Regions from separate parts of the Homo sapiens genome. Here all the other regions are linked to region 6. Evidence: promoter capture Hi-C in 16 types of primary human blood cells and fetal thymus (Javierre and others, 2016). All regions are on one chromosome and are shown on one strand. The core of a region is centred on a gene start or on the middle of the fragment in contact, and the rest is flanking DNA. Distances in the headings are between cores, read along the strand shown.

Region 1 (2,724 bases), core at 172-2,671, 640 kb before region 6:
CTCCCATCCATCCACCCTCCCATCCATCCATGCATGCATCCATCCATCCATGCATCTATCCATCCATCCATTTATCCATCCACCCTCCCATCCATCCACCCTCCCATCCATTCATGCATGCATCCATCCATCCATCCATGCATCTATCCATCCATCCATTTATCCATCCACCCTCCCATCCATCCACCCTCCCATCCATCCACCCTCCCATCCATCCATGCATCCATCCATGCATCCATCCATCCATCCATCCATCCATCCATCCTTCCATCCTTCCACCCTGCCATCCATTCGCCCTCCCATTCATCCATCCATTCTCCCATCCATCCACTCTTCCATCCATCCATCCATCCATCCTCCCTACATCCACCCTCCCATCCATCCATGCATCCATCCATCCATCCATCCATCCATCCTCCTATCTATCCACCCTCCCTTCTATCCATCCATCCTCCCATCCATCCATCCATTCTCCCATCCATCCACCCTCCCACCCATCCATCCTCCCATCCATCCATCCATTCTCCCATCCATCCACCCTCCCACCCATCCATCCTCCCATCGATCCATCTATCCATCTTGCCATCCATCCACCCTCCCGTCCATCCATCTATCCATCCTCCCGTCCGTCCATCCATCCATCCATCCATCCATCCATCCATCCTCCCATCCATCCACCCTCCCGTTCATCCATCTATCCATCCTCCCATCCATCCTTCCATCCATCCTCCTGTCCATCCCTCCATCCATCCTCCTATCCATCCACTTTCCCATCCATCCATCTATCCATCCTCCTATCCATCCACCTTCCCGTCCATCCATCTATCCATCCTCCCATCCATCCACCCTCCCATCCATCTATCTATTCATCCTCCCATCCATCCCTCCCATCCACTCATGCATTCATCCATCCATGCATCCATGCATCCATCCATCCATCCATCCATTTATCCTCCCGTCTATCCACCCTCCCTTCTATCCATCCATCCTCCTATCCATCCATCCATCCACCCATCCCTTCTCCCACCCATCCACCCTCCCATCCATCCGTCTATCCATCCTCCCATCCATTCACCCTCACATCCATCCTCCCTCCATCCATCCTCCCAGCCATCCACCCTCCCACTCATCCAAGCAGTCCTTGCTTGTCTAGGACTGTAGGAGCTCTGTCAGCTCTGGAGATACGGCAGTGAACAGGACTAGAAAGGCCACTGCCTCCACGGAGCTCCCTGTTTAGTAGAAGAGAAAGAAAACAAGAAACGAACATGCCTGTATTTCTGTGTACATGAATGCTGAGAATCTGGAGAGACCAGCTGGGATGAATTGGAATCCGGGGGCCTGGGTGGTTTCTGATGAAGAGATGTTTGGGCTGGGGCTGCAGCAGGGGCCAAGCTGGCCATGGGATGGAGAAGAGGCCAGTCCTGCCCATGTCAAGTCTGGAGAGGGTGGGGCAGGGGCGAGGGTGAGATAGGGACCTGAACGTTCATTCTGGAGCTGTTTCACAAGCACCTCCAGTGCACCAGAGTCCTGGGACTGGCTGTGGCACGGGCATGGGGTGGGGTGGGATCGTGAGCACCCCTCACCTCACGATCCCCTCGTCCCTTCCCTCACCCGCCGCTGCCCACACCCCCGGCTCCTTCCAGGATAGAGCCCGGAAAACAAGTCGGGGGAGGGAGGGTGCAGAGATCAAGATAAACCCCTCTCCCCAAATCATATTCCAATTCCTCAATTTCACCTCCTCACTCAACAGGGAGCCATCTCTCTAGTTTTCCAGGCCAACCCTTAGGAGCTGGGGATTTATTTGTGCATTTTTAACCCATTGTACAGATTCTGACTCCATTAGCGAAGCCACACCTTGGGGGCCACAGTGCCTTTCGTCTGCAAAGGGGCCCTGCAAAGACCGGTCAGGAAAAATTAATTAAACATTTTAACCTCTCAATGCCTCATGGCTGCGACATTCCCCTCCCGTGTCAGCCAAGAGAGAAACAGCCGTGTTTATCTACAAGCTCCTGGAGGAGCAGAGGCCACTCAGCCCCTGATACAATCTTGGGTGCCGTGTGCGTGGGGACAGTTTACAGCCCCGCATGACAGAAATCAGATATTTAGGGAGATGGAGTGATGGCCTGGCGTTAGTGGGGTCCGACGTGTTCCAGGCTCCGTGCCCTATCCCCAGGGCTCTAATGGCTGTGTGTGGGTGGGGGTGTACTCCACCTATGAGGCGCTGGGAGTCAAATGCATTTATCAGCTTCCTGGAGATTTAAAACCCAATAGCCTCTCTCCTGCCATTGCAGAGAATGGCAACAGTGTACGCAGGCGAAACACGTGGTTCCCAGGGTCCACGCTGCTTTTTCTTCCCCCAGGCCTGCAAATTATTCTCCCCGTGGTCTTTCTGCTTGAGTCACTGACTCTATGCTCGTTTACCAACCAGGTACCCTGTGCCAGGTGCCGTGTCCACGCTGGGTCACCTCGGGGGCCAAGACAGCTGATGGCCGCATCCGGGGGTGTGGACAGATGGGAAGAGGAGCGCACCAGTCAATGCGTGAGCCCATTTCCGGCAATCAGCGCCACGACGGTACCAACGTGGAGGGGCGCAATCGTGCCTGGGCGGGTGGTTCGAGGAGGAGCATCTGAGGAGGTGATGTTTCGGTTGAGGCTTGAGTGCCGAGCAGAAGGCAGGCAGGTGGAGGTCGAGGGAAAAGCATTCTGGGCGGAGGGAACAGTGTA
Region 2 (2,891 bases), core at 232-2,731, 610 kb before region 6:
AGGCACTCGAACCTGTGGGCCCACATGCAGCTCTTCCCTCCTGAGTGTGACCTCGGGTGAGCCCTGCGTCCTTGAGGAGCCTCTGTTTCCTCATCTGTGAACTGGGGTCACACCTCCTGCCCTGCAGAGTTGCTGTGACAGTGATGACGTGTGGAGCACCAGCATGGTCTGCCAGCGTGTGGGGCCAGGACAGAACACTTCCCCATTGCTGCTCCCTTGGTGTTTGGGTTCCTGGTCCAGGGCACCTTCCTCCTCCCCCAGCCTGGACCAAGCCCACTCCTGTGTGTGCTTTCAAGTGGACAGGAGGCCCAGGGCAGGGAGGGCAGCCCACGCTTACTTTAAGAATTTCTGACCTCCAGAGACAAGGATGCCAGGACCTCCACTGGGGGCCACCATGGCAAACTTTCCCGCTTTCAGGACACCCCACATGGCCCCCGGGATCTGGCTTTGGGAAGGAAGATGGTGCCTGGATTGCGAAGGCCTTTCAATCTCATGCCCTGCGTCATGGGGTAAATTGTGTCTCCCTCAAATTCATACGCCAAAGTTCTCACCCCCAGGACCTCAGAATATGGCTGTATTTGGAGACAGAATCTTTTTATTTTTATTTTTATTTTTATTTTATTTTATTTTATTTTTTGGAGACAGGGTCTCACCCTGTCACCCAGGCTGGAGTGCAATGGCCCTATCAGGACTCACTGTAGCCTCCACCTCCTGGGCTCAAGCAATGCTCCTGCCTCAGCCTCCTAAGTAGCTGGGACCACAGGCATGCACCACCATGCCTGGCTAATTTTTAAAAATTCTTTTGTAGAGATGGGGTCTTACTATGTTGCCCAGGCTGGTTTTGAACTCCTGCCCTCAAGCAATCCTCCTGCCTCAGTCTCCCAAAGTGCTGGGATTACAGGCACGAGCCACGGTGTCTGGCCAGAGACACGGTCTTTAAAGAGATAATGGAGGGAAAATGAGGTCACTAGGGTGGGCTCTGATCCAATCTGACTGGAGTCCTTCTAAGAAGAGGAGATTAGGACACAGATGCTCACGGAAGGACAATCACGTGAGGACATGGGGAGAAGATGCTGTCTGGAAGCTGAGGAGGAGGCCTCAGGGGATCCAGCCCCACCCACACCTTGATGTTGGACTTCCAGCCTCCAGGATCGTGGGAAATAAACGTCTGTTGTTTCAGCCACCTGGTCTGTGAGAGTTTGTTATGGCGGCCCAAGCAAACTGACCCACCGAGGAATTTCGCTTTTGATCTTATGGGTGGTGGGGTCAGTGGGGGCTTTGAAGCCTTGGTCCCACACAGGGCTGGGGGCTCCTCGGCTGCAGGGTGGAGGGGGCACTCCACGGGGAGAGGCACAGGCTGGGAGACCAGTGTGTAGGAGTGTGTCTGTGTAGGGGTGTGTGTTTGTATGTAGGGATGTGTGTATGTAGGGGTGTGTGTGTGCGCCTGTGTAGATGTGTGTGTGTAGGGGTGTGTGTGTCTGTGTAGGTGTGTATGTAGGTGTGTGTGTATGTAGGGGTGTGTATGTAGGGTGTGTGTGTGTGCCTGTGTAGATGTATGTGTGTGTAGGGGTGTGTGTGTGTGTGTCTGTGTAGGTGTATATAGGTGTGTGTGTGTATGTAGGGGTGTGTGTGCCTCTGCAGGTGTGTGTGTGCCTGTGTGTGTGTGTATGTAGGGGGTATGTGTGTAGGGGTGTGTGTGTATGTAGGGGGTGTGTGTATGTAGGGGTGTGTGTAGGGGTGTGTGTATGTAGGGGTGTATGTGTGTAGGTGTGTGCGTGTAGGGGTGTGTGTACATGTAGGTGTGCATAGGTGTGCGTAGGTGTGTGTAGGTGTGTGTAGGGGTATGTGTGTGTAGGGTTGTGTATGTAGGGGGTGTAGGTGTGAGTGTATGTAGGGGGTGTGTGTTATGAGGGGTGTGTGTGTGTAGGTGTGTGTGTAGGTGTGTGGAGGGGTGTGTGTAGGTGTGTAGGGTGTGTGTACATGTAGGTGTGCATAGGTGTGCGTAGGTGTGTGTAGGTGTATGTGTGTATGTGTGTATAGGGTTGTGTGTGTATGTAGGGGGTGTAGGTGTGTGTGTATGTAGGGGTGTGTGTTATGTAGGGGTGTGTGTAGGTGTGTGTATAGGGGTGTGTGTAGGTGTGTGTATGTGGGGGGGTGTGTTATGTAGTGTGTGTAGGTGTGTGTAGGGGTGTGTGTAGGTGTATGTGTGTGTATGTGTGTGTGTAGGTGTGTGTGTATGTAGGGGTGTGTGTAGGGGTGTGTAGGGGTGTGTAGGGGTGTGTGTAGCTGTATGTGTGTGTAGGGGTGTGTGTAGGTGTGTGTGTATGTAGGGGTGTGTGTTATGTAGGGGTGTGTGGCGGTGTGTGTATAGGGGTGTGTAGGTGTGTGTAGGGGTGTGTGTAGGTGTGTGTAGGTGTGTGTGTATAGGGGTGTGTAGGTGTGTGTAGGGGTTGTGTGTAGGTGTATGTGTGTCGGGGTGTGTGTAGGTGTGTGTAGGTGTGTGTGTGTAGGGTGTATGTACATGTAGGTGTGTGTGTGAGTGTGGGTGGCGCGAGGGTTCTCCAGCCCCAAGTGCGTTGGTAAGAACGCGAGGAGGGGAGAAGGACAGCTGGAACCGTCTGAGCGGCGGGGGAGCCGGTGTGTGAAGCCGGCACCACGTTAGCGGAACCGAGTTATTGAAGGGCCCCACCTGGGTGGAGCCGTGAGTGTGAGCAGCTTCCGCTTCCCCCGGAAGCTGGCGTCGTGCAGGAACCCTCACCCGCCCGAGCGGGGCCCTGGGCCTCCGGGTCACTCTCTGTGGCGGGGTCTGGCTGCGCGTCAGACGGCCTCCTCCAATGCCCGCAGTTGCTGTCGCCCCCAGGCCTGGACCGGGGAGTGAGGGGTGGGCCTGA
Region 3 (2,853 bases), core at 106-2,605, 740 kb before region 6:
ATCCAGAAGGGACACCCGGGAGCCCCACTCCACAAACACGTGGGTGCAGCACGCACACACTTGCACATGCGCACACATACACACACACAAGCAGGGATCCAGAGAGAGAGCCCAGGACCAGTTGGGAGAGGGGCCTGACAGGAGGGGCACCAGGGCCGGTGGCCCACAAGGTCCTAGTCTGGCCACAGGAGGGAGGTTCAGTCAACAGAGATCCACAAAGCCCCGTCCGCAAAACAGGCCACCCCGGCAGGCTGGCTGCGAGTTGGCTGCAGGGACCTGGCATCTCTGTGATCCACCCTCACTGTGCCTTCCAGCGCCAGCTCCCTCCACAGCCCTCGAAAAGTCTCCAACCCAGCCAGGCAGCCCGCAGCCCCACCCTGCCTCCCTGCTCCCGTGCTCCCCTTGCTGCCGGCAGCAATTCATCCCATCCAGCCTAGGGGTTGCCAGTTCCCCTGTGCTTGGTCAGCCCCTCATAGGTCCTCACACAGGACAGAGCCTATGCTACCCTCTGGGACGCGTCACCGCAAACAGCCTCACTCATCCCCGTACCCACGCTCAGCCAGAGCATCCGAAGGGGTGGAGTGTGCATGGGACCCAGGACGAGGGGGATGGCGGCGCGTGGAACCCGCAGTGAGGGAAAGGCGCCCCAGCGGCGAGGGCTGGCACCTTGAACTCCATCTCCAGGTACTGCGGCTCCTTGCGCTCCTGCATGAGCCCCAGGCAGAAGGCCTGGAAGTTGATCTCGTGCTTGGTCTGCTTGATGATCTCCCGCAGCAGGGCCCGCGAGGCCCGCAGGTAGTCGTCCTTGTTGGTCAGCAGGTCCTGGAACACCATGGCCAGGAACTGGGGCAGAGAGAGGCCGCGTGGGAGGCTGCCCGACAGTGCTGTCCCTGTCACAGGCCCCTTCCCGCAGCACCAACAGGTATGGCGCCCGAGGGCGCTGCAGTGGGTCTCAGACAGTGTGGGGTGCGGGGTGGCGGGCTCCTTGCTCTACTGGCTGCCAGCCCTTGGCGAGCAGGGATCACATCTGATTCCCCTCTCTGAGAACCGGCAGGTGGGGAGTCGGTCCTCGTGAAATGAGGAGGATTAATTAACGGAAGCTGGGGGTGCGGGACACCAGGCGGCAAAGCCATAGAAGCGCGTGTGCCATCTCAGCCCACCCGTGCGCCACGGGCTGAACGGAAACCAAAGGCCACCACCCAAGATCTGAAAGGATCTGAAAGGACGCACTCCTGTCTCAAAATGCCAGGCCGCGAAGACTGAACGCGGAGCTGAGAGCGGCTGTGCCTCCCTCGTGTTTCACACTCCATAGAGCCCACCGGGAGGCCTAATGCGCTGGTGGCGATGGGAGCATCTCCCGAGCCCGCTTCAAAGGAGACACGGAAATCCAAGGGTCCTACAGCCAGGGCTACAGGGACCCCTGCTTAACCGAGGGACCCAATGCACAGGAGGCGGGTCTGGGCCAGGCACAGGGGCTCATGCCTGTCATCCCAGCACTTTGGGAGGTTGAGGCAGGAGGATCGCTTGAGCCCAGGAGTTTGAGACCAGCCTGGGCCACATAATAAGACCCGGTCTCCACAAAATTTTTAAAAACTACCTTACTATCCAAAGGCAGGAATGAGCTTGAAAAATAAAAACAGAAGGCAACAGGTCTGGGTCTTAGCTCAGAAACCTGGGTGGCTTTTAAGACTCAATGTGGCTCCCTCCTAAATGGACAGAGTGTCAGTTTCTGAGAAAGACGCTGGGCGCTGTGGCTGCACCCACTCTAGAAACGGCTCAACCTCATGCCCACGTGAGTTTCAAAAGCTCCTTCCCGAGACCGAGGAGCATTCTCCCACGAAGCACTGCCAATCCACCGGCCTCCCCAGACGCCACGTGCCCCTCCAGCCCAGAGCCCCATATTCCGGCGTGGAGGGCAAGGCCAGGGACCCTGGGCCTACCTTGGGCGCCAGCTCTGAGCTGTGCTGCAGTGCGGTATAGAGGACCTGCATGTTGTTCGGGTTCCGGGCGCTGGAGAGCTCATTGAAGATCACCAACTTGATGGTGGTGCCCAGGTTGTCCTTGTGCGCGCTCAGCAGCTCCCTGGGTGAGGTGAGGGTACAGACCCTGTCCCCGCTACGCCTGTGCCCCCACTCCGCCTGTGCCCCCACTCCGCCCGCACCCCCGCTCCGCCCACACCCCCACCCACACCCCCACTCCACCCGCACCCCCGCTCTGCCCCGGCTCGCCACGCACCTGATGCACAGCATGAAGTGGTTGAGGAGGACCTTGGGCTTGAGGCGGATCTTGATCAGGTGTGAGATGACGTCCATGTCTTCGGAACCGTGCGTGTTGCAGTTCATGCAGACGGACATCAGCAGGTCCTGGGCCGGCCGGGTCAGCTGCGGGGCCGAGGAGGGAGCAGTGGGCTCACGGCCACCCCGGCAGGAAGACCACGCTGTGGGGCCACACAGAGCCTGCCCCCACCCCCTGCCCCGCCCACCCCCCCGGGGCGCCCCCGCACCTTGGGGTTCTGCAGCCACATCTCCAGCTTCTGCACCGCCAGCAGCCGCACCTCCTTATAGCCGCAGGTGGAGGTGAGGAGCCGCAGGAGGTTCCTGGAGACGTTGTCGATGGGCTGGCGCCGGTTCAGCTGGTCCCGCAGCATGTCCAGGACATACTCCTCCACGCTCTCCGCGAGCTCTTCGTACCTAGGCCAGAGGAGGGAGCGAGGAGGGAGGAAGGTGGCCCCGAGGCGCCCGCCCCCGCCGCCCCCAACTGGGACCGGGCAGGCACGCAGCTACCTGGGCATGAGCTGGCCCTCCTGCTCGGGGCTCAGCTTCTCCTCCGCGATCAGCAACTCCGTCTGGCTGT
Region 4 (3,074 bases), core at 304-2,803, 600 kb before region 6:
AGCTTTGCCCTGAGTGGGCAAAATCTGGCAATGGTTTAAGAAAAGCTTTAAGTTTGACAAAGTGCTCTCTTACTTACAAATTTAGTTTATTTATTGTTATTTTATTTTGGTTCACAAAGCAAATGGGTATTAGTTTTTATTGCTGCACAACAAATTACTCAGATTACCTCAAAATCTAGCAAATTAAAATAACATGTATCATCTCCCATAATTTCTGGGGTAAATAATTAGGTAGTGGCTTAGCTGGGTGGTTCTGGCCCAAGGACTCTTATGAGGTTGCAGTCAGGAGCAGCTAGACAAGGCTGCATTTATCTGAAGGCTTGACTGGGGCAGGAGGCTCCCTTCCAAGATGGCACCTGCACAGGGCTGTTGGCTGGAGGCCTCAGCTCTTCACCCTGTGGCCCTCTCCATAGGCTGCTTAGGTTTCCTTGTGCCCTGATGACTGGTTTTCCCAGTGTGAGAAATCCGTAGAGCAAGAAAGAAGTGCATTGTTTTTGTGGCCTAGTCTCAGAAGCCACACACTGTTTCTCCCAGGATATCCTATTATTGCATAGGTCTGCCCTATTCAAAATGGGAAGAGACTATACAAGGGCATAAACACCAGGAGGGGAGGATCCATCATTGGAGGCCCTCTTAGAGGCTGGCTGTCCGAGTTTATGAAATGTTTTCTGGATTTTGAAGTACTTTGGAGTTTGCACAGAACTTTATTATCTTACAACTGATTTTTTACATGAATTATCTCACTAACCCCTGAGATATTCCCTTATTTCCTTTGAAGGGACTGGGATGGGGCTTTGCGAGTCATCGTGCCTTTTGTTGTGCCTTTACCTGGGTTTCCAGACTTTGTGGGGCCCAGGAAGTCACCCTGGAGGTGAGGCCCAGCTCCAGGCCCCAGAGATGAGGCCAGAGTGAAGAACGAAAGGGTCCGTGAGTCGGCCCTGGGTCAGAGAGAAGCAGAGCAGGCCAAGGGCCTGAAAACACAGCAGAGTTCATATGGAGGGTTGGGCCCAGGCTGAGGCATCCACCTGGGAGGCCAGGTCTCTGTGTGTCCCCTCAGAGTGTTTGTTTGCCAGACTCACGGTCACTAAGGTTTTCTCCATGAAAATGCAAGCTACGGCTGGGCACGGTGGCTCATGCCTGTAATCCCAGCACTTTGGGAGGCCGGGGCGGGTGGATCATGAGGTCAGGAGATCGAGACCATCCTGGCTAACACGGTGAAACCCCATCTCTACTAAAAATACGAAAAATTAGCTGGGCGTGGTGGCGGGCACCTGTAGTCCCAGCTACTCGGGAGGCTGAGGCAGGAGAATGGCGCGAACCCGGGAGGTAGAGCTTGCAGTGAGCCGAGATCATGCCACTGCACTCCAGTCTGGGTGACAGAGTGAGACTCTGTCTAAAAAAAAAAAAAAAAAAAAAGAAAAAGAAAATGCAAGCTACAGACTGGGAGAAAATATTTGAAAACATTTACCTGACAAAGGACTTGTATTTAAAATACAAGGATGTTTTAAACTTAATAATGAGAGACTAACAACCAATTTTTAAAATGGGTTAAAGAGGGCCAGGCAAGGTGGCTCATGCCTAATTCCAGCACTTTAGGAGGCTGAGGTGGGAGGATCACTTGAGCCCAGGAGATTGAGACCAGCCTGGCCAACATAGTGAGACCCTATCTCTACAAAAAATTAGCTGGGCATGGTGGCATGTGCCTATAGTCCCAGCTGCTTAGGAGGCTGAGGCAGGAGGATTGCTTGAGCCCAGGGGTTCCAGACTGCAGTGAGCTGTGATTGCACCACTGTGCTCCAGCTTGGGTCACAGAGGATGACCCTGTCTCAAAAAAATAAAATAAAATAAAATGGAGCCAAATATTTAAACAGACACTTCTGTAAAGAAGATACACAGGTTTTCAAATAAGTCAGTTTAAGTGGGGAAAAAAAGACATGCAAGCACATGAAAAGACTGAACATTATTAATCATTCAGGAATGAAAAATAAAACCACAATGAGATACCACTTCACACCTACTAGAGTGGCTGAAATGAAGAAGACTGACCTCAGCAAGTGTTGATGAGGACATGGAGCACCTGGAACTCTATGCTGAGTGCTGATGCTGAGAATGCAAGATGGTGCGGCCACGCTGGGGAAGTTTGGCAATTATTAGAGAGTTAAATGTGCACCTACCATAAGAAGCAGCCACTCCACTCCCAGGCACTCACCCAAGAGAGATGAAATCATCTGTTCACACAGAGACAGATATAAGCATACCTGGCAGCTCTATTTGCATATGGCTAGAACACAGTACCCACTTCTCTGGAGTGTTGGGAGGATTTATTAATTAATTTTTTGAATTTGAAAATAGAAGGTCAGGCATGGTGACTCACACCTGTAATCCCAGCACTTTGGGAGGCCAAGGTGGGTGGATCACTTGAGCCCAGAAGTTTGAGACCAGCCTAGGAAAATAACATGGTGAAACCCCATCTTTATAAAAAAATACAAAAATTTGGTGCTGAGTGAGGTTGTGCACATGTGTAGTCCCAGCTCTTGGGTGGCTGAGGCAGGAGGATCGCTTGAACTCAGGAGGCGGAGGTTGCAGTGAGCCGACGTCACGCCACTGCCCTCCAGTCTGGGCAACAGAGCAAGACCCTGTCTAAAATGCCCAGGCTGGTCTCGAACTCCTGGGCTCAAGCAATCCTCCCGCCTCAGACCCCCAAAGTGCTGGGACTACAAGCATAAGCCCCCATGCCCAGCTGGGAGGATAAATTTAGTTGGTGGATGTCAATTCTGTGGCACAGCATGGCAGGCAGGAAGGACTAAGTAACTGCGCCATTATTTTTATGCCTTCCTGTGTTGCTTTCATCCCACTCAACGGATTCAGCTTGCAGATGGGGAAACTGAGGCCAAGAGAGAGGCAGGGTATTTGCAGGATTTGGTCACCAGGTCAGAGTCCAAGCTGGACCCAGCAGGCAGGCCCTGGCCTGTGGACAGCATGTTCCCATTCCTTCCTCCACACTAGCAGAGCCAACACCCTGCTACTGAACCTCCCTCTCAGTTATGGGAGCGGCTGTCTCCAAGCTTCCCTAT
Region 5 (2,911 bases), core at 278-2,777, 700 kb before region 6:
ATACAAATTAAAAAATTAAAGAGATAATAAAAGTGTGTGATTAGTAACAAAAGCCTGCTATGGAAAGAATGCATTTGGGTTAGAGGAGCGACACCATGAGTAACGTAAAGAGTCCCGCGGAGATGGCCACAGCTTCTCTGGAGGCTCCCAGCGCATCCCAGGACCCCGAGTGCAGAGTGTGGGCCAGGACAAGGGAAGCACCTTTCCCATCCCCGGGGGATGTCTTTCTGCAAACATCCTGGGGACGTGGGACATTGTCGCTACTGCTGCTGTTGAGTTATTTCTTGGCACCTGTTTCTGCGGCCAGGTTGCAGGCATCACTGTGGCTAGCTGCCCCAGACGGCCGTGTGGGCCTTAGCAAGGAGGGGCCTCCCAGGTGGCCAGTGCAGAACCCGCAAGTGGGGGGGAGAGATGGCCCGGGAGGCTGCCCCCGCGCTCCACAGCAAGAGGCCACTGGGCTGCTGCCTAAATCCCCAGCCACATGGTGGTAAGGACGACACCCAGAAGATGCACAGACCTCCCTGCACTGGCTCCTGAGTCCCACCTGAGCCGAGAAAACAGGCTCCCGGGTCCCACCTGAGCTGAGAAAACAGGCTTCCCAGAACCCCGGGCAGATGCCATGGGTGTCCTGGGGGGCCCTCGGTTGCCCAGGCCTGAAACTCCTCTTCCTGCAGCGCTCAGAGGGGGGCGGGACTTGGGGACCCAGAAGCGTGGCAAGGGGCTCCAGACGGATCCCCTCTCCAGCCTGTCCTCCACCTGTGACAGGAAGCAGAGGCAGCTCCCTCAGGGGCCCGCCCCCACCTGAGGATCCCTCACAGGACTCCTTGGGCCAGTGGTGCCCTAACCCCATCCTGGGCCTGCTGTGTCCCCTGGCAACCACCAGCTGGGGCTTTAGAAGGGGGCTGGCCCCACCCACAGAGGCTGTGATCACTAGCCGCTTATCCCCATTTTTACATTGCTGGTTTGCTTGTTTTGTTTTTTTGAGACAGGGTCTCACCTTGTCACCCAGGCTAGAGTGCAGTGATGAAATCATGGCAGCCTCCACCTTCCAGGTTCAAGCCATCCTCCTGCCTCAGCCTCCTGAATATCTGGGGCCGCAGGCACATACCACCACGCCCGACTAATTTTTGTAATTTTTTTGTAGAGATGGGGGTCTCACTGTGTTGTCCAGGCTGGTCTGGAACTCCTGGGCTCAAGCGATCCTCCTGCTTTGGCCTCCCAAAGTGCTGGGATTACAGGCATGAGCCACCGTTCCCAGCTGGCCTTAATGTTTTTTATGTTTATAGAGACAGAGAATGGGGGAAGGGAGGTTTCGCTATGTTGCCCAGGCTGGTCTTGAACTCCCGGCCTCCAGAGATCTTCCCGCAGGGCCTCCCAAAGCGCGGGGATTGCAGGTGCGCGCGGGGCCAGCGGCCCCCCGGGCGGGAGAGGAGGGCGTGGCCGGGGGGCGTGGCCGCGGGGCGGGGAGGGGGCGTGGCCCGGGGGGCAGGGCGGTGTGACGCGCGCGCCGCGGATCCCGGAAGCGGTGTCAGATGCTGGGGAGCCGGGCGGGCGGGTGCGGTGGCGGCGGGCGGCGCGGGGGCACTTGTTGTTCTTCGCGAAGTCGGAGCCCGAGCGCCAGGCGGCGGCGGCGGCCGAGGGGAGCGCGACAGTGAGCGCCGGCGCGAGGACAGCGCGTGCCCGCGAGGAGCCGCCGCGCGCCCGCGCCCTCCGCGCGACGCCAGGTGAGGGGCGGTGGGGCAGCGGGGCCCGGGCCGCGGCGGGGACGGGGACCGGGGCGCGGGGCCGGGGCTACCTGGCCGCTGAGTCACGGCCGCCTGGGGGCGCGGGCCGAGGGTGGCGGGGTTGGGTGCGCGGGGCCCGAGACCCTCATGCGGCCCGCGGCGCGGCCCGGGCACCTGCCCAGGTGGGCCCCGCCCCGCAGGCCCGGGGGCTTCCCCGGGACGCGAGGCTCTCTCCCCTGCACGTGCCGCCCGGGCCATGCTTGCCGCGCCGGGGGCCCCAGGGCGCGGACCCCAGACCTGGGAGGACGAGGATCCACGCGGGTCGGCGGCGCGCATCGGGCCCGCGCCTTCACACCTGCGGGGGGCGGGGCGGGGCGGGCGCCACGTGCGGGCGGTGCGGGGAGGGCGCGGGCGCGTGGATTCTCCGCGGCTTCCGCCCCAGCGTGGCTTCCGCGTGCGGCCCCGGACTGCCCCCCGCGCTTCCTCCCGGTGACGGGCGGCGCTCTGGCCCAGTGGCTGGGGTCACGCGTGCCCGGGAACGGGGTGGGGGTAACCGGGTCTCCCCACAGGCGGGATCCTGGGACTGGTGTCGCTCTCAGCCGCCCACCTGCCAGGGTTGCTGGAAGGAAGGCCGTGGGGAGGCGGGAGGGGGGCAGGTGACAGTGGCCCCAAGGCTCGTCCCTTTGCTCACGTGTGGGGCAGGGGCTCCGGCCTCTTCCCGCTCCCACTGCGTGAGTTCTTCTGTGCCTCTGTCAAGTTCAGGAAACTGTGTATGTGCCCGTGACTGTGTGTGTCTGCGTCTGCACAGCCTCTAGATCCTGGGGGGTGGGACCAGGCGCCACCGAGAAACCCAGAAAGCCAGGACCCCGCCTGGCCTTGGCCCTTGACCTGGGTCCGCCTGGGACACAGCAGTGGCCCTGCACTGCATTCTCGCGCTCACACCGTGTGTGTCCGTGTTCGCGGGGCCTCCCGTGTCCCTCTCCTGGTGTCCTGCGTCCCTGAGCATGCTGTTTTCTTGCTTCTTAAGTAGCTCTTGTAGCTGAGGCAGAAATTAGATCCACTCACCATTCATTCACCAGGTGACCCACAGGCAGCCAGCCAATCTCTGGCCAGGTGCCTGGCCTTGGGAAGATCCTGAGACTCAAAACGCCCCCCACCGCCCCCCATCGTGGTCTAGGGGATATCTG
Region 6 (2,821 bases), core at 21-2,520:
TGACAGTAAAGATGATGATCATCACAGCTGTGCTCATTTTCATTGTTTATTTCTAGTGACATTAATAAGTACTACTACTATTTTCAACTAGGTATCAGAAAGAAAGGTATCTGACATTTCCGAGCACCGAGACTTCTTGAACTTCAGTTTCCTCATCTGTAAACTCATGACAGTGAAATCTACTTGCAAAGTTGTGGGGAACGGGGCCAATATCCCTCAAGTCTTCCACCGCTAGATGATGGGAATACGGCTGCAGGTTGACCAGCACTATATTTGTAAGCTCAGTCTCAACAGGGTGGTGAATTAGGTCTTTTTACACAGATTCTAGAGATGATGAAACCGAAGCTTCAAAAAGTTACAGAACGGAGATTGGAACTTGGGTCTGTCTGGCTTTGGAAGGCTGAAGACAAACCGCAGTAAAGAACTTTGCACCCCCAACACCGGCGCTTACTATGGGCTCATGGCAGGCCGGCCCACCAGCCACAACTAGGGAACAGCCAAGCGCGTTTAAAAGCCAAAGGTAGAACTTCTGCAGCTGCACAGTTTCTGAGTTTCCATTTAACAAGAACCTTGGCCTGGTGCAAGCAGAGGCCTGAGCTCCCCAGGCTGCCAGCCCCGCAGAGGCAGGCCCGCCTGGAAGGAGGCTCCACAGCCCAATTCCTCCATTGCCCAAACGAGATCAGGGTGGCCCTTGCCATCCCCGAGGGGAAACCGGGCCCACACGCCCCCTTCCTGAGAGCGGACCGGCGCGAGCCACCAGGATGCCAAGAGCCCCTGCAGCCCCGACTTCTCCACCAGGCGCCAGCTCAGGCCCCTTCCTCGGCGCGCCGGCACCCTAGCCCGGGGACCCACACGGTAGGCAGCGGGACCCCGGGGCTGGGACCACGAGCACGCGCCCCTCGGCCGCCCGCCCTGGCACAAGGGACGGCTGCGGAGACCCAGGCGAGGGGCCCGCTGTCCCCAGCACAGCCCAAAGGGGGAGTGGGGACAGGGGAGTGGGGAGAGGAGGGGAGAGCACAGAGAGGAGAGCGCGCCCATGGGAGACGGGGCGGGCGCGGGGTCCTGAGGCACGGGGTCTGGGTCGTTGTGCCCCACCCTGGCGAGCACACCCGGTCCGGGCCCTCGGCCCCTCCCTTGCCATTCCCGGGACCCCCGGGACCCCGGGACCCCGCCGCCCGCGCGAGCCGGGCCGCTTACCTCAGCCGCTCGCAGCCAGCTTGCCGCCGCCGCTCGGATCTCCCTCCGCTCCGCCGGCGCCCATTTATCGCGACACTTGCGCCTGCGCTCTCGCGAGACCTGCGTGGCAATCGGGCCGTAAAGAACCGAGTCTGCGCACCGGCTGATCCTGGGGACTCCGCGTCCGCACCCGGAGCCGCCACCCCTGGGAGACTCCGCACGGAAAGGACTCGGAACCGAAGGCTGAGCCAAGGCGCAGTCGGGGGCCCCCCGGCTTTGCGCAGGACGCGCTTCCACTAAGGCTTTCGCCTCGCGCCGTAATGTGTGGAATAGCCGCGCCCACGGCAGCCTCCTCGGACAAACTTGCACCGTTGACTCTTCCCAAAATTTTGCTACTCAGTATCAGCTTGAATCAATCCGTTATTTTGCTTTTTTCTGGGCCCACTAGAAATGCAATTTATGCTACTAGGCTACCTTCCCAGTGCTCTGCAAGCCAGGGCACAGCATCCAATGGGGTGAGGTCAGGCCCCACCATTATTATGGTAACCTTTGTCTATCCTTCAAATTGGAGCCTTCCTGAGAAGAGTGTGCCTTACTCGTTTCCATATTCTCTTCCTCTCCTCCTCCCGTCTCTGCCCAGCCCCTGGCTTCCCTCTAAGAAGATGCTGTTCCTAAGGGTCTGCAATGAATTTTCCTTCTTTCAGAGAAAGACTTCCAAGTTGTGTGCCCCGGGAATGAAATGGAATAAGAGAACGAGGTGGAGTAGGGCAAGAGTCCCTGGACTTAACAACCTGACTGCAACCAGAAATAAAATGAAAAGTCAAAACATCTGGCGGCCGGGCGCGGTGGCTCACGCCTGTAATCCCAGCACTTTGGGAGGCCGAGGCAGGCGGATCACGAGGTCAGGAGATCGAGACCATCCTGGCTAACACGGTGAAACCCCGTCTCTACTGAAAATACAAAAAAAAAAAAAAAAAATAGCCGGGCGTGGTGATGGGCGCCTGTAGTCCCAGCTACTCGGGAGGCTGAGGCCGAATGGCGTGAACCCGGGAAGTGGAGCTTACAGTGAGCCAAGATCACTTCACTGCACTCCAGCCTGGGTGACAGAGTGAGATTCTGTTTCTCAAAGAAAAAAAAAAATCAAAACATCTGACCCGCAGTTTCCTTCGGGGAGCTGGACAGAGCCCCAGATTCCTGATGGAGATTCCTGGGTTTCCAGACTTCCCCCACTGGTCCTTGGAATTTAATCATAGTCAACAAACTCTTCTTGAGGGATGAGTACACCTCCAGGAAATGGCTTTGAGGAAGCCAGTTTAAAAAAAACAAAACTTCAAAGCATGAAAGTACCTTAAAATAATGCAATCTCTATTATTTTATTAAATATAAAGCTGCGTCAAGTTCCTAGATGAGTAAAAGAAAATAAACACACCACATCACTGCTTGCTTTGGCAATTACATTTATGTTCTTGGGAGCCCAGACACTGATATAAATTTCCAGCAAAAACCAAAGCAGACCCACTGCCTGGATAAATTCAGACCATACGTCTTCCCTAATTGTTCCGGGAACTTTTGCTGCTTGAAGAATGCGTGAATTGCTATATTGTTCACCAGAAAGACAGAAGTTAATCCCCAGATGGAAATTTCA
Region 7 (2,878 bases), core at 324-2,823, 680 kb before region 6:
CCTCCTTGCCCCTGCCTGGCCCTTCCTTGCCACAGCGCCTGGCCGCTTCTCTACCTGGGGGCTGTTCTGTTCCCACCTGGGGACTGCTCCGGGTCGGGGGCTGTGTGTGGCTTCGGGCTTGGGGAAGTTGCTTCTCGCCCATCTCCTGCACAGGAGTCCCGGTCCCTCTAACAAGCTGTGACCTTTGCTCCCCAGCTCCCTACAGAGCAAAGTCCAACCCCCTGCCAACCTCCCACCAGCCTTCTCCAGGGTGTCACGCCTCTGGAAGGAGAAGGCCCCTTCCCCTTTCCAGCTATGTGAGCCTGGGAAAGACCTCTGGTCTCTCTGAGACTCAGTCTTCTTGTCTGTGAAATGGGACCACACTGCAGACCTCAGTGAGCCGAGTGACGAGCCTGTGAAATAGCCAGGGGTGCCCGGTGGGCGCTCTGCCCTCAGCCTGGCAGAGATCTCCCCATTTTCAGGCCCAGCTCCCACATGCCACATCCTGGGGAAGCTCATCCCCTCCCCCGTGCCCTGGCCGATCCCACTTCTGACAGCGTCTATAGCAGCGGCACCCAGGGGGACCGGGCTGAGCCACGGCCACGTCCTGTGGAGACCAAGGTCCTGAAGGAGGCTCGGGGGCGGAAGGGCTTACCTGGTGGCAGGTGAGCACCAGGGCAGTCCACACGAAGATCCCCGAGACGCCTCGGGCCAGTGCGGAGGTGAGGAAGAGCCAGGGGGCCCCCTGGGAGCTGTTCCCCATGTGGTCCATCTGCGGCCCAGCTGGCACAGCCGGTGGGGGGCTGGGCTGCGGCCAGTTCGCTGACACCAGGGGGACGCCGGCTGTCTCCAGGATCCCTGAGACATTACTCATCTGCAGAGGGAGGGAGGACACACACCGGGAGGAGTGAGGGCAAAGGTACTGGCTCCCGGCAGCAGGAAGCAGCGGGGGAGGGAGGAGACAGTGAGACGGGAGCTGAGGCTGAGCCACCCACCAGGCCGCACCCCCCACACGGACACCAGCGCCAGGCCCGGCTCCCTCCCTGCTCCGAGCTCAGCCATCGAAGCTCACCCATCAACCACCTGCGACCTGAGGGTCCCACCTCAATTCCCCCTTGTAAAACCAGCTTCCAACTCCGAGTCTCAGGCTTGCAGGGAGCCTGCTTCTTAGGGGACAAAGACCGTCTTCCAGTGGGGCAGAAGAGGGGGAACCCCTGCCGCCCTGCCTGCCCGGGAGGGCTGGGGAGCGGGCGCAGACCAGCACTGCCTGCCCCGGCAGGAGGGGGTGTGCAGCCACCCTCATGGGAGGAGCCGGCCCTCACTGGCTCTGGGACCTGTCCACCCACCTGGGAGCCCGGCTTTGCTGGGGTTCTTGGCAGCCCTGGGTGCCTGTTCCATCTCCCACTAACCTGCTGGGGCCCTGAGTCCACCCTCTCCCACACTCGCAGCCCAGTCCAGCCTCCTCCTCTCCCTCTGGTCTGCGGTCACAGGGCCCAGCTCTACCTTTGCTGGCAGGAAGCACCTGGCCCAGTCCAGGGAGGCCTGGCCTCCAGGGAAGCCTAGCTGGTCATTCTCATGGCCACGTGGCCCCAACTGGAGGCCCCACTGTGGGTGCGGCAAGGCCAGGATCTGAAGGGCTGTGCCAGGCTGGGGCGGGGCGGCCAGTGCCTCACGTCCCCAGTGGCCCACCTGGGCCCCAGGCTGCAGGCCCGTCCCCTCCTGTCCCCTCCCACGGCTGACACCCTATCCTCCCGGTTGTTTGCTGGGTGGCAGCTGGCTCCCAGGAACCTGCTGGCCGCCTGGCGCCCTCACCTGCCTATGCCAGACGGCCAGGCAGCTGCCACCTGGTGGGGACACGTGGGAGAGGTCTGCGGCAGGCCAAGGAGGGCCGGGCTGCAGGAGGAGGGGTGGAGAGCTAATGGTACAGGGTTTCTCTGGGGGGTGACAGGAGTCCTGAAATGAGGTAGAGGCGGCAGGCACACAGCACTGTGGATATACTTACCGCCACCGAATCGTTCACTTAAACCTGGGTAAATTGATGTTATGTGAATTTCATCTGAATTAAAAAAAAAATCCACGCCCCAAGAGATGAGTTGAAAACATTTGTTTTCTGGGCCGGGCGTGGTGGCTCACGCCTGTCATCCCCACACTTTGGGAGGCCAAGGTGGGTGGATCACTTGAGGTCAGGAGTTCGAGACCAGCCTGGCCAACATGGTGAAACGCCGTCTCTACGAAATACGCAAAAATTAGCTAGGTGTGGCAGCGTGCACCTGTAATTCCAGATACTCAAGAGGCTGAGACAGGAGAATCGCTTGAACTCAGAAGGCGGAGGTTGCAGTAAGCTGAGATCACACCACTGCACTCCAGCCTGGGGACAGAGGGAGACTCTGTGTCCAAAAAAAAAAAAAAAAAAAAAAGGAAATATTTCTGGTTTTTGTGGATCAAGGCAGGAGAGGGGGAGTGACAGCCCAGTCCCTGGACCCTTTGGGGTCTGGCAAGGGGTTGCGGGGCCCTGAGGGTCCCTGTCACCCCCATGCAGAGGCCCCTGTGGAGAAAAAACTCACTCACCCCGGCTCCTGGGAGAGGGATGTGGGCCCTCAGCCCACCTCTTGTCCTGTTCTGGTTACGCTTGGGCTCATGCCGCTGGGGCCACCATTACCAAGTCCCGCTCCATGCCCGCAACGGATCCACACACTCCTTGTCCTTCATATCTCCTACCCTCCCACAGCCCTGAGCAACAGGGCTCAAGGGGTTGAGGCTGGAATGACTGGAGCCACTGTTCCCCTTTTATTTTTAATTAATTTATTTTTTGAGACGGAGCCTCGCTCTGTCGCCAGGCTGGAGTACAATGGCGCGATCTCGGCTCACTGCAACCTCCGCCTCCTGGGTTCAAGTGATT

Evidence for each region. The method cuts DNA at HindIII sites, captures the fragments that hold promoters and counts their contacts. A CHiCAGO score of 5 or more calls a contact.
Region 1: a contact is called between a fragment that was not itself captured here and the fragment with the promoter of MAD1L1 in region 6, in 12 of 17 cell types (M1 macrophages, M0 macrophages, fetal thymus and 9 more). The highest score is 15.5, in M1 macrophages.
Region 2: a fragment that was not itself captured here is called in contact with the fragment with the promoter of MAD1L1 in region 6 in 2 of 17 cell types (M1 macrophages and M0 macrophages); the score reaches 7.3 in M1 macrophages.
Region 3: a fragment that was not itself captured here is called in contact with the fragment with the promoter of MAD1L1 in region 6 in 1 of 17 cell types (M0 macrophages); the score reaches 5.0 in M0 macrophages.
Region 4: a fragment that was not itself captured here is called in contact with the fragment with the promoter of MAD1L1 in region 6 in 2 of 17 cell types (M2 macrophages and M1 macrophages); the score reaches 6.2 in M2 macrophages.
Region 5: a contact is called between the fragment with the promoter of MAFK here and the fragment with the promoter of MAD1L1 in region 6, in 1 of 17 cell types (M2 macrophages). The highest score is 5.1, in M2 macrophages.
Region 7: a contact is called between the fragment with the promoter of TMEM184A here and the fragment with the promoter of MAD1L1 in region 6, in 2 of 17 cell types (erythroblasts and monocytes). The highest score is 6.4, in erythroblasts.

Annotation. Positions count from the first base shown.
Region 1 is chr7:1,594,333-1,597,056 of GRCh38, forward strand. It overlaps LOC105375123 (a long non-coding RNA gene), which reads left to right. Exons shown (of 8, transcript XR_001745048.2): 3 at 2,429-2,572. Among named protein-coding and RNA genes, the nearest start is that of PSMG3-AS1, 26 kb to the left of the region's middle. The HindIII fragment of the contact is 5,076 bases long and covers 1-2,724 here.
Region 2 is chr7:1,616,856-1,619,746 of GRCh38, forward strand. LOC105375303 (a long non-coding RNA gene) reads left to right here and starts at 2,740. Exons shown (of 2, transcript NR_165252.1): 1 at 2,740-2,891. The HindIII fragment of the contact is 6,488 bases long and covers 1-2,891 here.
Region 3 is chr7:1,496,472-1,499,324 of GRCh38, forward strand. It overlaps INTS1 (integrator complex subunit 1), which reads right to left. Exons shown (of 48, transcript NM_001080453.3): 7 at 2,784-2,853; 8 at 2,504-2,690; 9 at 2,236-2,381; 10 at 1,941-2,082; 11 at 667-843. Among named protein-coding and RNA genes, the nearest start is that of INTS1, 6.5 kb to the right of the region's middle. The HindIII fragment of the contact is 9,142 bases long and covers 1-2,853 here.
Region 4 is chr7:1,635,268-1,638,341 of GRCh38, forward strand. No RefSeq gene overlaps it. Among named protein-coding and RNA genes, the nearest start is that of ELFN1, 33 kb to the right of the region's middle. The HindIII fragment of the contact is 3,020 bases long and covers 44-3,063 here.
Region 5 is chr7:1,529,175-1,532,085 of GRCh38, forward strand. It overlaps MAFK (MAF bZIP transcription factor K), which reads left to right and starts at 1,528. Exons shown (of 3, transcript NM_002360.4): 1 at 1,528-1,724. RefSeq lists silencers at 1,358-1,627, 2,118-2,247. The HindIII fragment of the contact is 17,285 bases long and covers 1-2,911 here.
Region 6 is chr7:2,231,675-2,234,495 of GRCh38, forward strand. MAD1L1 (mitotic arrest deficient 1 like 1) reads right to left here and starts at 1,271. Exons shown (of 19, transcript NM_001013836.2): 1 at 1,198-1,271. It overlaps MRM2 (mitochondrial rRNA methyltransferase 2), which reads right to left. Exons shown (of 3, transcript NM_013393.3): 3 at 2,521-2,821. RefSeq lists silencers at 770-1,189, 1,167-1,545 and enhancers at 1,180-1,474, 1,260-1,389, 2,124-2,656. The HindIII fragment of the contact is 9,650 bases long and covers 344-2,821 here.
Region 7 is chr7:1,554,632-1,557,509 of GRCh38, forward strand. TMEM184A (transmembrane protein 184A) reads right to left here and starts at 1,574. Exons shown (of 9, transcript NM_001097620.2): 1 at 1,483-1,574; 2 at 635-853. The coding sequence starts at 853. RefSeq lists silencers at 100-282, 1,650-1,719, 1,760-1,849 and enhancers at 392-1,192, 762-1,056, 1,193-1,992. The HindIII fragment of the contact is 30,451 bases long and covers 1-2,878 here.